Linked DNA regions of Homo sapiens: region 1 is linked to region 2. Evidence: promoter capture Hi-C in human tissues and cell types (Jung and others, 2019). All regions are on one chromosome and are shown on one strand. Each heading gives the region's core, a stretch centred on a gene start or on the middle of the fragment in contact. The rest is flanking DNA. Distances are from core to core; before and after follow the strand shown. Region 1 has its middle 26 kb from the start of MIR4433A. Region 2 holds the start of AFTPH (aftiphilin).

Region 1 (2,801 bases), core at 156-2,655, 210 kb after region 2:
GCACAGCCCAGCCTTGTGTGGATGGTGCTTTGGAGAAAGCTAAGGAATTGGGGCAGCATCCAACATGGGACAAAGCAATATGAGGAACACAGCAGTCTTAGAAGGAAAGACACGGGGTTCACTCAGGAGTGCAGAGGAATGGAGAAATCTGAGCAAGAGGAGACTAGGAGAACGGGAAGGTCCTCAAGAGTTCCAGCAAACTTTGTGGGAAGAGACATGCTGGCTTCCACCAAATGTGGGATGGGGGTTCCTGCCACTTCACTTGAATGTTAGAGAAAAGCATTACCCCAGAAGTGTGTATGGCCTGCGGCATCCAGGCAGTTGACACTTGGTTTTGCAGTTCCTCGTGGGACCATCTTTCCTCCTGGCCAACTCCCAAAAACCTGACAGCCAAGTTGGGAAGAGAAGTGAATGTTTCTTTCATGCTTTCTCTAACTTGGCTTGGATTAAAGGAGAACTGCTTCTCTTAAATCAAGAGTACGCAATCATTAGGAGGAGTGAGAAAATCTGTAGTTGGTAGAGGGCCAAAGTGGATTGGTGATCCTGGTGGTTGGAGACATTCAGAACAGGCGTTTGGGAATTCTGGGTTTTAGATGGGCCAGAATCCCATATCCCAACTGGCTCCTGAGACAGAACATGGAACACTTGCAGAAAGGTGTTAGATGTTGTTTCTGCTAATAGTAACACTATGTTTAATGTCCAAATATATTCTCTGTTTACACTTGTTCAAGTGATGGAATTTTAGGAGCTACACCTGGGGTAATAGAAAGGTGACAGGTGTTTCCTTGGTAATTCTCCTGAATATGGTTCTATCACATCTCTAGTCAAACTAAGATATAGACTGAAGCTTGGGACCCATTGGAAAAGGATCATTTGGGAATAAAAATCTTCACATTTATTGAGTGCCTTCTATGTGCCTGCGTGCTGCTAGACACTCTACACTAGTATAGTCTTCACAATCCAATGATATAACTTTATTTACATAATAAGGAAACTGAGGCTAAAGAGGTTGACAATGTGGCCTAAAGTCACACAGTGAGTACGTGGTATGGTTGGGTTTTGAACTCAGACTGACTGGCATTGGAGTCCACATACTTAGCTACTACCATATTCTACCTCTTTGCTCTGGGGGCGTTGTACTTAGGCACTGGGTGCACACAACCCTTCAGAACCATCCAGGGTCTTCCCATGAGCATGAAACTGCACAGAGGACTATATCCTCAAATGGCGAAGAGCCTGGGGTGAAGCTACACAGCTATTAATGTGCAACCTAGAAGTTTTTGCTTTTATTAGTTACATACACCTCTTTATCAACTTAGTTACTAGTCACATCCTAACAACTGTAAAAGCAGAACATTTCCAAAACATTTCTCTTATTTGATATTCCTAGTAGCCTGAGTTCCAGGCAAACAAGATTTTATTGTAATCTGAACAATAAATAAATGGTTATTTTCAAGCCCAACTTTAACTTTACTGAATATGTAGCATACTTATTATTCATTGCCTGCCAAAGCCACATTTTCACTAAATCTTGCAATTAGTGGAAAAACTATATTTTAAATACACATGTATAGTAGGTGTATTGAGTATAAGCCTTAATGAAATTCATTTTAAAACAGTGGAGTATCTGCTTGAAGACTGTATGAAGTACATTTTCCCGTGTCTTTTCTTAGGTTAATAAATATCTAGGGACCAGTTTAACTGCCGGCTTCAAGTAACCTACCAAGTAAAATAATATACCTAATGATTCTAGAAGAAGACATTTTCTTCCATTTTGAGGCAGTGTCTCTTATCTTGAAATTATGAATTTGAGGTTTATCTGATAGTGACTTTGCATGACCAAAAATGCTTTGGAGATTATGACATTAATTTTTAAGGAGGAGGAGGTCCAGGACTGTTGTTTTGTTGTGTAAAAATCTGTATTTTAAACATGTAATTCATTTTCAGTTCTACATTTTGTGTATATTGAGTCCATATTGCCGCCTTGGTAGAAAGCACAAAAGAGGGTTTTTAAATTTTCTGTTATATTAGTTATAAATGTTATAAAGGAGATAGAATTGAACAGCTTGTAACTGTACTGAATTTGATTTTCATTTCATAAGATTTATAGAGTGATGTGAGAGTTTAAACTTGTCCTAAAAAGGCTCTTAAATGAAAAACATGTCAGCTGTATTGAAAAAGGGCCTCAAAGAGCTTCTCCCTGCAGGAGTCAGAACTTATTATGGCATCATCAGCTAGTTTCAGTGCTGCTGGTGAAATGTGATTTCTCAGATAAAACAGCATCCCAAGAAATGACATTTACAAAACTTGGTTCTAGCCAGTTTGGAGCAAGAATTCACACATTCACACTGCTGTCCTCACTGCTGGCGGAGACCAAATTGAGAACATTTTTAGCAGGAAGAGCTGGCACTTGGCTCTGAACCCCATGGCTAGCGCCTGTGGAGAAACAGATAAGGAGTTGTACGGTTTGCTCCTAATAACCATGTTCCCTTGACATTGTAAATTTTTGCACAAAATTACCCAGAAGGCATAACAAAATACTCTTTGCTACAGTAAACCACTCCCGTGCATGGAAAGTATATAGTGAGCACTGGAGAGATCCGGGCTTCCTTTTCCAAAGTTTTTGGAACAGACTCCAGGTTTCTTTCCACCCAGGGGAAAAGCTGCTACAACACTTAAGGGCGGGGGGGGAGGGGAGGTGGGAATGATTAAAATTTGTTTTAAATGTGAATCATGACAAACCTATGAATTAGAAACTTAGAGAAAAACTTATTTGAGCAAGGATAGTCGCCAAAAAGCTC
Region 2 (2,975 bases), core at 328-2,827:
CACAAGATCTGTCTTTTAATCCATGTGAAATATCTTTATGAACAAAATTTAGGAGACTACCACAGATACTTTGTTTAAACAAATATACCTCTGCGAAGTGTTAAAAATGACTACTAAAAAAGCCAACATTTAAACTGGTAAAGCATATAAAATGTACGTGACTGTGTTAATTATATTAACATAATAATGTTGAAACATTTGTTGTCCCTAGAGTTTAGCATATATTTTAATGTCTAAGAGGTTAACTGAAAGCAACAATTAAGTGTAGCATCAAAGATAAACTCTGTGTCTCCCCTCCACCAAATAAAATCCTCGGAATAGGAGGTGGAAGGAAGACTTACACTGTAGGAAAAGTTGAAAACCAAAGTTCTACTTTACTTCTCCTAAAGTGAGAACTTTGAAACGGAACCATTACTTTTGTTTCATCCCCCCGCCCAGTAAAAAATTTACATGTATGAGTCAGTTCTTCCCTCGGCCCCAACAGAAAAGATTCAGTATAACCAAGCTATAACTTGCACAAAGCAACAAGGAAAAAAAAACCTTGCTATCCCCATTACTTTCCTAATAGAGCAAGGACCCTACCACCCCTCACTCCATACTCTGCCTCTGCCCCAAGCAAGACGCAGCACCTGCCAAACCAGGCACTTAAGGAATATGGTCCAACTTTTCAAACGCAAACTGGAGAGGAGACGCAGATAATTTCTTGAAGAGTGCAAGAAGACAGCAGAAAAGGTACTCTGAGGAAGGGATGCGTGAGCTTTGGGGCTGTCCCCTCTGCCTGTTGGAGGATTCCAAATTCGCTTGCTTCAGAGACCCTTGGAAGCAGCACACTCAGGTCGCGGCCAGCCTCGGGCCTCGGTGAAGGAGGCAGTGTTTACACCTGTCACGAGGGAGGGGGAAGGAGAGCGAAGAAGCCCAAGCAAAGCCCCAAACTTCTGAACAGCTCCCTGGAGAACGCAGCCAGCGCGGAGCTTTGGGAGGTGGAAGCAAAGGGGCAGGGAGAGCCGGCGGTGGCCGGGGAGGGAAGGACTCCCACTTACCCGGCCGGTGCCCGGGATGGCGAGGAGGGGGCCGTGCGCTTCGGGCGCCACCAGCGGCGTTCCCGCACTCGCCGCAGAAGAGAGCAGAGCCGGGAGCCCGCAGGCCCGCAGAGCCAGCTCCGTCCTCACAGCTCCCGGCTCCGCGGCGGGCAGATGCTCCCGGCCCGGGTGAGGGTCTGGCTGCTGGGCCGGGCCTGGTCCCCGCACCCTCTTTCCCCGGCGCAGCTAGGGGAGCGGAGCGGCGGCGCTTACCTGGCTCCTTCGGGGCGGCTGCGATGGGCATGGCTCAGGGGCCCGGGGAGGAACTGACTCCCCGGGGAAGGACCGTCTATTCCGACGCGGAACTGGTGAGAGCGGAAGGCCGGCTGCTCACAGCCCTGTCAGCGCAGCAGCACCATGGACGCCCACCCGGAGTTTCACCGCTGCCGCGGGACCCCCATCCCACTACCCTCCGCCCTCTTCCGCCGCCGCCGCCGCCTCCTCCACCTCCTCCGCGGAGACCCCCCGCCCACTCCACACACTCTCCCATCATGCAGCGGGGGAACCGCTGCCGCCGACACGTCACTTCCGGGCGCAGGTGGCTAGGTCGGGACCGGGCGCTGGTGGGTGCTGTGGGGTGGGGGAGGACACTCCAGGGGAATTGGTGTCACAGAACGCTTATCCCTGCGCAGGCGCTGTCGTGCAGAGCGCCGACCGCCATTTTGGGTGCGGGCAAGCTGCCCTTTCCTTTTACTTCCTTGCGAGTCATAGAGCTGTAGGGGGATAGACGTCTTCCCGCACTCAGGCGCCGGTTGAGGCTGCGCTCCTGGCGAAGGACAGGTGCTCCTTTCAGCCGGTTAACGTTCAGCTCAAGACCGGATTAAGTCTCTTGCTCTCCAAATAAAATTGTAAAGGTTTGGAAATATAGAACCACATTTTTACCAAAAACCTACTAGAGAGCATTCGTCAGCTTGCCCTTTTCGCCCCGAAAAACGACTTTTTCATTCACAGCCTGTCTCTTCCTCTTTTTAAATTTATGCCGACAGAGGAAGAAGCTGATATTTAACAAATAACAAGAGGTTGCGATAAATAGAATTTAAGGTGGGAAAGCAGCCGCCAAACTGACAAATCGTCTTCGAGACCGACAAGAAAATAGTAGTCCGGAATTTGGCTAATGGATGGAGAAGGTGGTCGTTTTTCATAGACCCTTACGGAGAATATCTAGTGAAGCTAAAGAGATCACCATAAACTTATGCATTCAAACGCATTTCTGGAACAGAGGTCGTAACCGATTTTGTTTCCATCATCAGTCCTGAACAGTTGATTATTTATATAATCAACTGTTATTTATATAAAGGTAATAAAAATATTACCTTTCCTCCTCCTTTACAATGAATATCTGTTAGAACACCTGCCAGTGTAACAATCAGACTACAAGGCTACAGGATTATGATTACTGTCTCGGATGATGAGCCCGGGGTCCTACAAATCATGACCCCCGCCGGCCCCTCATTCTGCCCATATTTGCCAAACGTCTGCATCAGTAATTTGAATAATTTAAAATAGTTCCAAAACAGCAAAGCTCAGCAGTTACGCAAAGAAACAAGAATGGAAAACATCCCCTCAGGCACAGAGAAGTGTCCACCCCTTTGGGTGGAGGAATTATACAAATCAGGAGAAAGATAAGGACAATAGCAGTTCATCACGATTTATCCCGCCTCTGCAATGTTCTAGACAAATTAACTCGGAGCGCTCCAATGGACCCGCATTTGTCTCTTTACTATTCAATCGCTGTAAGATATACGGAGACTGCATCACTTTAAATGGGAGTATCAATTGCTTTGTGGTTATGCTGGATTTTGTGTTATTGCTCAGTCACTAAAGTAAGAAAAATCTATATGGCTTGTCAAATTTATGCCTATTGTATTTCGCCCCCTGCTGGTTTAGCTCGTGTGC

The links. The method cuts DNA at HindIII sites, captures the fragments that hold promoters and counts their contacts. A contact is called where the count stands out against the background at its distance.
Region 1: a fragment that was not itself captured here is called in contact with the fragment with the promoter of AFTPH in region 2 in 1 of the 25 tissues and cell types used here (aorta).

Annotation. Positions count from the first base shown.
Region 1 is chr2:64,313,094-64,315,894 of GRCh38, reverse strand. No RefSeq gene overlaps it. Among named protein-coding and RNA genes, the nearest start is that of MIR4433A, 26 kb to the left of the region's middle. The HindIII fragment of the contact is 4,884 bases long and covers 1-2,801 here.
Region 2 is chr2:64,522,930-64,525,904 of GRCh38, reverse strand. AFTPH (aftiphilin) reads right to left here and starts at 1,577. Exons shown (of 10, transcript NM_203437.4): 1 at 1,293-1,577. AFTPH-DT (AFTPH divergent transcript) reads left to right here and starts at 1,750. Exons shown (of 1, transcript NR_136167.1): 1 at 1,750-2,975. It overlaps MIR4434 (microRNA 4434), which reads right to left and starts at 392; the gene lies at 340-392. RefSeq lists enhancers at 698-1,198, 1,199-1,699, 1,801-2,020 and silencers at 1,071-1,320, 1,331-1,410, 1,441-1,600. The HindIII fragment of the contact is 9,621 bases long and covers 1-2,975 here.